Linked DNA regions of Homo sapiens: region 1 is linked to region 2. The links are contacts of gene promoters, found by promoter capture Hi-C in human tissues and cell types (Jung and others, 2019). All regions are on one chromosome and are shown on one strand. The core of a region is centred on a gene start or on the middle of the fragment in contact, and the rest is flanking DNA. Distances in the headings are between cores, read along the strand shown.

What was found. The method cuts DNA at HindIII sites, captures the fragments that hold promoters and counts their contacts. A contact is called where the count stands out against the background at its distance.
Region 1: a contact is called between a fragment that was not itself captured here and the fragment with the promoter of CARS2 in region 2, in 1 of the 25 tissues and cell types used here (dorsolateral prefrontal cortex).

Annotation. Positions count from the first base shown.
Region 1 is chr13:111,248,323-111,251,926 of GRCh38, forward strand. All of the region lies in intron 8 of ARHGEF7 (Rho guanine nucleotide exchange factor 7), which reads left to right. Among named protein-coding and RNA genes, the nearest start is that of TEX29, 71 kb to the right of the region's middle. The HindIII fragment of the contact is 4,062 bases long and covers 1-3,531 here.
Region 2 is chr13:110,704,300-110,708,278 of GRCh38, forward strand. CARS2 (cysteinyl-tRNA synthetase 2, mitochondrial) reads right to left here and starts at 1,817. Exons shown (of 15, transcript NM_024537.4): 1 at 1,571-1,817; 2 at 1,222-1,272. The coding sequence starts at 1,794. RefSeq lists a silencer at 1,625-2,184 and enhancers at 2,235-2,614, 2,625-2,744. The HindIII fragment of the contact is 14,015 bases long and covers 1-3,979 here.

The DNA.
Region 1 (3,604 bases), core at 251-2,750, 540 kb after region 2:
GATTTTTGCCTTTATTTTAGGTTTTTGGCATTTTGACGGTGATTATCTCGGGTGTGGTTTTCTGACTTCTCGAACTTGAAAATTTATGTCTTTTACCAAATGTGGGGAATTTGCGGGCATTATTTCTTCAAATATTTTGCTGCTTTACTGTTTCTACTCTGCCTTGGGGCTCCAGTTACACCCATGTAGACCTTTTGCTGGAGGTCCTGGATTTGCTCGTTGCTTTCTGACCTGGTCTCTGCTCTGTTCTTCAGGTTGAATGGCGTCTGCTGTGTCCTAAGTGTTCACTGTCTGCCTCTCTACTCTCTTGTTCGTCCCCGTGCAACAAGTTTTTAGTTTGAGAATTTTTTTCAGTTCTAGAATTTGTTTCGCTTAAAAAAAGTGTTTAGTTCTCTGCTAAGATTTTATATTTGTTCATTCACTACAAGAATATTTTTCTTTATATCCTTTAGCAATAATTAGAATAACTGCTTTAAGGTCCCATCTGCTGATTCTTTATTGTGAGGATGGGTTACGTCTTCATGATTCTTTTTATTTCTAGTGACTTTGAATTGTGTCCTGTTTACTGTGGGTTGTAGACTCTTGATCATGTTAGGTTTCCCTGAAGAGTATTGATTTGCTTGTTTGACAGGCAGTTAACTTGGTCAGGCTCAAATTGCCAACTCTCCCTTTGGCAGATGCTCAAATCTCAGTCCACTTATTTTAGACTCAGCTGATCTGAAGTTGGCCTTGCAAGTTCTGTTCTGCCGTCAGCCAGAGATTTGGGCAGAATTTAGAGACAGAATTCAGGGTCACACTCACCGTGGGTTTCCCCCAGCTTCCCAGCAACTCTGGTAGAACCAAACCCTGTGGATTTTTGTTGGAGTTTTAGCTGTTCCACATAACAAAGTTGGCTGCCATTAGCTTAATAGTTGAGAAAGCAGGAGGTGCCCTGCCCGTTCTTTTTTCCAAATGTCCATCCTTCCCCAGAATATACCTGATGCTAACTAAAAAGTGATTCAGGCAGGTCTCAATCGATAGAGGTTTACGTAGCTGCAGTTGAGGACGTGCCAGGTAACAGGAGCATTTGTGCTTTTTCCAAAGCTTTGAGAAGTTCAGTATTTAAAGGGGAAAGAACAAGCAGGAGGGGAAAAAAGGGAGGCTGGGGAGCAGTGAGGCAGATGCTTAAACATTGTTGTGAGCCTCCGATTGGCCTCAGTAAGCCTGCATTTTACACGGGAAAGGGGGAGTAGAGGAAAGTCAGTTGTGCGTTTTTCTCAGGGTTCTCTTTCACGGGAAGGGTGATTTCTGCTCTTGTCCTTGTCTGTACCTATGAAGATAAGCTGGTACTTGACATTGCCAGGGTGAGATACAATAGAACTCGGTTTTAGGGCTAGTTTTTAGTGGGGGACATATGTTCTGATAGATTTAGGGGCTCACAAGAAATCTCCTTGTGAGCACTTTGTGAGGAAGGCCATCTGGGGAGCTATGTGGCCTTCTGTAGTTGTGGGCACCTGGCGTATGGATGAGGCCATGACACAGGGTTGTGGAATGACAGCTCTCTGTTCGGCAACAAAAGGCAGACAGTGTTGCACAGTTCAGTTCCCAAGCTTCACTTTCCCACTGGCATAGTGAGTTTGGGTCCCAAGATTCTGTTATCTTTCATGCTACTTTTGAGTGCCTCTAGGCAGTTACTTTCTATATGTTTTTTAAAGTTTCGATGTTATTTGCAGGCGAGTCAGTTTGATAGGAGTAATTTGGCTATAGCCAGATTTATAGAACCCATTTCCTTTTAGTTTTTCAAATCACAGTTCTTCCTTTCATCAGCTGTAGAGGGCTCCTTGCAAGCATGCTTTGTCTAGGCTTTCAGTTCAAAACAATAGAAACTGCAATCTGCCTTCCATGCCCTTGTGCCATTTGCTGCATTAGTAGCGGCACACTGTCATTTGTGTTGTGAGGTTGTGATAGCTGGAATGTGCCCAGTTTGCCTAGAGCAGCTTTCTCAGGTATGCGTGCATTCGGCGCTTGTGCACACGCTGCCACCACGTGCGTGATGCTGGCTGGCTGCTGATAGAGCCTGTCCTGGTGGAGCTTATAGTCTGGTGAGGGAGACAGATAATTGAAAATTGTATAAATAGTTAGAAAGCTACAATTGCAGACCTTCTTACGAAAGAAATCATATCAGGCACCAAGAGCAAACTTCAGGGGAAGATCACTGAGCACTGAGGGGTAAATGGGAGGTAACCAGGCAAAAAACGAGAGGAGGTTTTTCCTCACACCAGCACTTCGTCAATTGTCTGACACTGAGTTTCCAGTGGTTCAGTTCTATTCGGACATTTGTCTCCCACGAGACTGCCACATTTCAAACCCAGCTGCAAATGGGGTGCCCAAGCTATATACTCCTACCTGACTGAGTACAGATTTGAGGGTTCCCATGACTCCCTTCAGGTTTGATAATTTGCTGGAATGACCCATGTATGTAACTCAGGAGAGTGCTTGACTTCCTGGTACCAGTTTATTATGAAGGATGCAACTCAGAATGAGATGGATAGAAGAAAGATGTAGGGTAAGGGATGGGAGCAGAGTTTCTAGGCCCTCTGGGTGCAGCACCTCCGTGCTTTCAGCAACCCAAAATCTCTCCAAGCCCTGTCCTTGGTGGTTTCTAATGTAGGCTCTGTTAGGTAGACATGCATGATTGACTAGATCACTGGACATTGCTGAGTGGCATGATCTCCAGCCCCTTGTCCTCCCTTTAGGTTGCTGGTTGGGGCTGAAAGTTCCTGTGATCATGGTGGTCTTTGTGACACCTAGCCCCCATCCTGTAAGCTGTCTAGGGGCCGACCCAGAGTTACCTCGTTAGCATAGACTCGGGTATGACGGAAAGGGGTTCATGATGGGTAACAAAAGACACTTCTGTCACTCAGAAAATTCCAGGGGCTTTGGGAGCCAGGGACAGTTTATCTGATATCACAGGAGAGAGAGCACCCTGAGGTGGGCATTGGCTGTGGCTGGAGCCTGTGAATGGAGAGGAGTGGAACAGTAGGAGCCCGGACGGGCAGGCGAGATCAGGTCCTGGAGACTTTGATTGGATCTTAGGTGACTGTCAAGAGTAGTTGGAAGCCGCTGATGGATTTGAAGCTTGGCAGTATCATAGTCGGCACTCTTCTGTAAAAGGAACCGTATGCTCTGTGATGAGTGGTCTGGGTGGGGCAGAGGGCAGGAGGACACAGAGACTCCAGAAAGGAGGATATTGAATTTTGTCGAGATTCTTTTCCGTGTTAAATAAATATCCGTTACCTTAAAAGCCACTGACTTATAATCATTCAGTGGTAATTTTGTGGAGGTGTTTATAAAAGTTACTTAGCAAGTCTGTTTTTGCTTAGGCATTGTAGTTAGTGCTTCTGGGATCCACGGCTGGTTGTAGGCAGCGTCTTCTCCCAGAACCACTCTGAACCAGGAAGTAGGTCACTACTTTCACATACACTCATGCCTGCATGCATTCATTCTCCCGGAACCACTCTGAACCAGGAAGTGTGGGTCACCACCTTCACATACACTCATGCATGCATGCATTCATTCTGTTTTTGTTTTTCCCCCAGAATGACCCTATGCCTAGAATTCTTTT
Region 2 (3,979 bases), core at 567-3,066:
TTTCCAGGGTGGGGGTTTTGTTTTTAATATTTCCCCAACATATTTTATAATTCAAGAAAGATGTCGAAATATGCTTTTGATAATTAAAAGTATGTTAGCCCAAAGTAAAGGGGAAAAATGTATATTTAAAGTATACAGAGTATGCCGGGCATGGTGGTTCATGCCTGTAATCCCAACACTTTGGGAGGCCAAGGCAGGTGGATCATTTGAGGTCAGGAGTTCGAGACCAGCCTGGCTGACATGGTGAAACTCCGTCTCTACTAAAAATACAAAAATTAGCCGGGCGTGGTGGTACATGCCTGTAATCCCAGCTACTCCGGAGGCTGAGGCAGGAGAATTGCTGCCAGGAGGCGGCAACTGGACCTGGGAGGCAGAGGTTGCAGTGAGCCGAGATTGCACCACTGCACTCCAGCCTGGGCGACAGAGCGACTCCGTCTCAAGAAAAAAAAAAAGTATACAGAGTAAATGTAACTTTTTACTTTTAGTCTAGGACTGAACAATACTAAGTTTTAAAAAATCTATAATATGTCATTTTTGTACATTATATTTTGGAAATGTACAAAATATTAGGAAAAGTGGTAATTTTGGCAAATGTAGGAGGCAGTACATCTTACAGTTAAAGAGGTCAAGAGAGCAACCACTTCGCAGTCAGAGAAACCAAGCCTCACCCCAGTTCCAATACCTCTTCAATGTGTCATCTTAGGAAAGTTACTCAATCACTATTGAGCCCCGTGACATCTCACATGTGAGGTACAGTGTTAAGCAGCATTTTATGGGCATTATTTACTAAAATTGTTATAAGATCCAAGTTATCATTCCCATCTCAAAGATGAAGAAACCAGGACTCAAAGCAATAAAGTGACCTGCTCAGTGCTGTGAAGCTAAGAAGTGGTGGGGCCCAGGAATGACTGATCAGCAGGACCCCGGGACCCCGCAAAGGCCTCTTGATGTCACTAAACCCAGCAAAAAACATCTAGTTCCAAAACGGGTCATTTTTCAGTGCTCCATTGTCTCCCTGAGTTTCCTCACCTGTAAAACGGGTGTAAGTGCTCAGAATCCCTATAAGAACCAAATGAGGTTGTAACATTTCCCACAATGCCTGGAATGTAGGAATTATTCTGCATCCCTAAGTTGCCACTTAAGAGATAAAAGAAATCAGCAAAAGGCTTTCAAAAATAAATGGTCCTTTGAAGTATGAAAATTCAAATCCAGGAAACTCACCAAGCATGGCCAAGGTGCGCATGATCATATACAGTTGGTCCACAGCTATACCTGGAAACAAAGTTAAAATCCATCGTGTGGAACATATTTGCAAGAAAGGACATTCGATTCTGAGTTATAATGATCATATAATTTTTAAAGTAATCACTTCTGGGGGATGAATAGCCGGGGTTTTCATACTTGCTCAATTCACACCCAAACCTGCAAAAGCACCGCGCACCCCCAGCTTCTAGAACGGCGCCCTCCATGCAGCTTCCTAAACGCCCTCCCCGAGCCCAGATCCCGTTCAGCCGTGGGAAGTCTCCGCCACGATCGGCCCCCGCCCGTGCCCCAGTCCCGCGCGGCCCACCAGGAGGCGGCTTCGGCGTGCGCCACGATTAGGGGTTCCTTCCTCCCGGTGAGGCTGTTGTACACCTGCACACCCGTCTCCCGGCCCGTGGGCTGCAGCCAGGCCCGCCCGCGCCCCCCGCTCGCCGCCCGGCCCGCAGGCCAGTGCCACCCAGCCCGCCCAAGGCCCAGCGCGGCCTGGAGCAGCGGGGGGCCCAGGCCTGGGCCGCGCGTAGTCCTCAACATGTCAGCGGCCAGCGCCTACGACTGGGCGGAGACGGGAGCCACGCCGGGTACGCTGCCGGTCGCTCAAGAGCAGCACGGCCCCGCCCCGCCCCGCCCACGCCCTTGGGGCCACGCCCACTCCCGGAAGCAGTCCTCAGGTAGCGCCTCCCTTTGGCCTGGCTCGAGTCGCCCGCGGCAAGGGTGGAGAACCAGGGCCCGAAGAGGTTGGGGCGGGGAAGGCCCGGGGTGGAGGGAGGAGGGCGGTGCCGCGCCGGGAGGCCGTGGGAAGAGGCGGTACCGTGCCGATCTCCTCTCCTTATTAGCCCAGGTCCTGCGAGGCGTCCGTGTGCGCGCGGTACCAGCCTGGAGCTGTGTCCGCCGCGCGGGAGGAGCGTTTACAGTGCAAGCTTCTGTTGCCGGGCCCTGGCCTGTTAGCGAAGCACGTGTGCATCCCAGCACAGCCCACGTCAGCACGCTAATACACAGTGTCCACCCCAGAACACACGTCAGCACCCCAATACAGTGTGCACCCCAATACAGTGTGCACCCCAAACACACATCTGCGCCCCAATACAGTGTGCACTGCAGCACACCGTTAGCATCCCAACACAGTGCACCCCGATACACAATGTGCAACCCAACACACAGTCTGCACCCCAAGAAGTGTGCACCCCAATACACAGTATGCACCCCAGCACACACATCAGCATCCCAATACAGTGTGCACCCCAATACAGTGTGCACCCCAGCACACACATCTGCACCCCAATAGTGTGCACTGCAGCACACCATCAGCATCCCAACACAGTGCACCCCGATACACAGTGTGCAACCCAGCATACAGTCTGCACCCCAATACACAGTATGCACCCTAGCACACACCACATCAGCATCCCAATACAGTGTGCACTCCAATACAGTGTGCACCCCAGCACACACCATGTCTGCACCCCAGTACAGTGTACACCCCAATACAGTGTGCACCCCTAATACACTGTGCACTCTAACACACACCATGTCTGCACCCCAGTACAGTGTGCACCCCAACACAGCACATGTGCATCCCAGCAAACACTGTCTGCATTCCAATGCAATGTGCACCTCAATAGAGTGTGCGCCCCCACACATCTACACCCCAATACAGTGTGCACCCCAATACACAGTGTGCAACCCAACACACACCATGTCTGCACTCCAATACACAGCATGCCTCCCCCACCATGATCCCGTATCTTGAGAACAAAAACATTCTGAAAGTTACTCACAATAGCTTGACAAACGTGCCTCTATTGGGCCAGGCGCAGTGGCTCACACCTGTAATCCCAGCACTTTGGGAGGCTGAGGCGGATGGATCACCTGAGGTCAGGAGTTCGAGACCAGCCTGACCAATATGGTGAAACCCCGTCTCTACTAAAAATACACAAATTAGCCGGGCGTGGTGGCGTGCATCTGTAGTCCCAGCTACTGGGGAGGCTGAGACAAGAGAATCGCTTGAACCCAGGAGGCAGAGCTCACAGTGAGCTGAGGTCACACCACTGCACTGCAGCCTGGGCAACAGAGGGAGACTCCGCCTGAAAAAAAAAAAAAGTGCCTCTATTGGTGTCTTGCAATACGATGTCTCAAAAAAAAGAAAAAGTCCCCTTTGCTTTTCCAGTTCTCAAAACAGGAGACGTTCCTCTGGTTTTTTGTTGTTGTTTTTAGTTTGCTTTGGTGTTTTATTAAAAAGCAAAGGTTTAAGTAGAGACAAACAAGTGTGTACCTAGAGTAGTTTCTCAATATCCTGGAGTCCAACTCTGCAATTCTGTTTCAAGCTAACTGTAGTCTAATGTAATCTATTGTCTAATTTAATAAGGTTAAAATGTTAGAATTAGGAGACCCTATAGCCTACATCAATGCTAACCACTCATGTTACCTAACTACTCTAAATTCTCCTGAATATTATCACTTCTTGCCTGCCTTATGTTATTTTGTAACTTTCCAGTGCTGTGTGTATATTTATCTCCCTGAGTATCTTAAATTGTACATTATTTTGAACTTCTCACTGTGCCCTGCACTAAATTCAGAAAAGGACTTGGGTTTTGTTTGTTTTGTTTTGCTGTGGCTGGAAAAAAAAAATTTAGAAGAAATAAAAGGGCTTGTTGAATGTTGATGAATTAATCCCTTACGAAAGGGATTAATTGTGCAGGTGGGAAGAAATCTGGGTAGT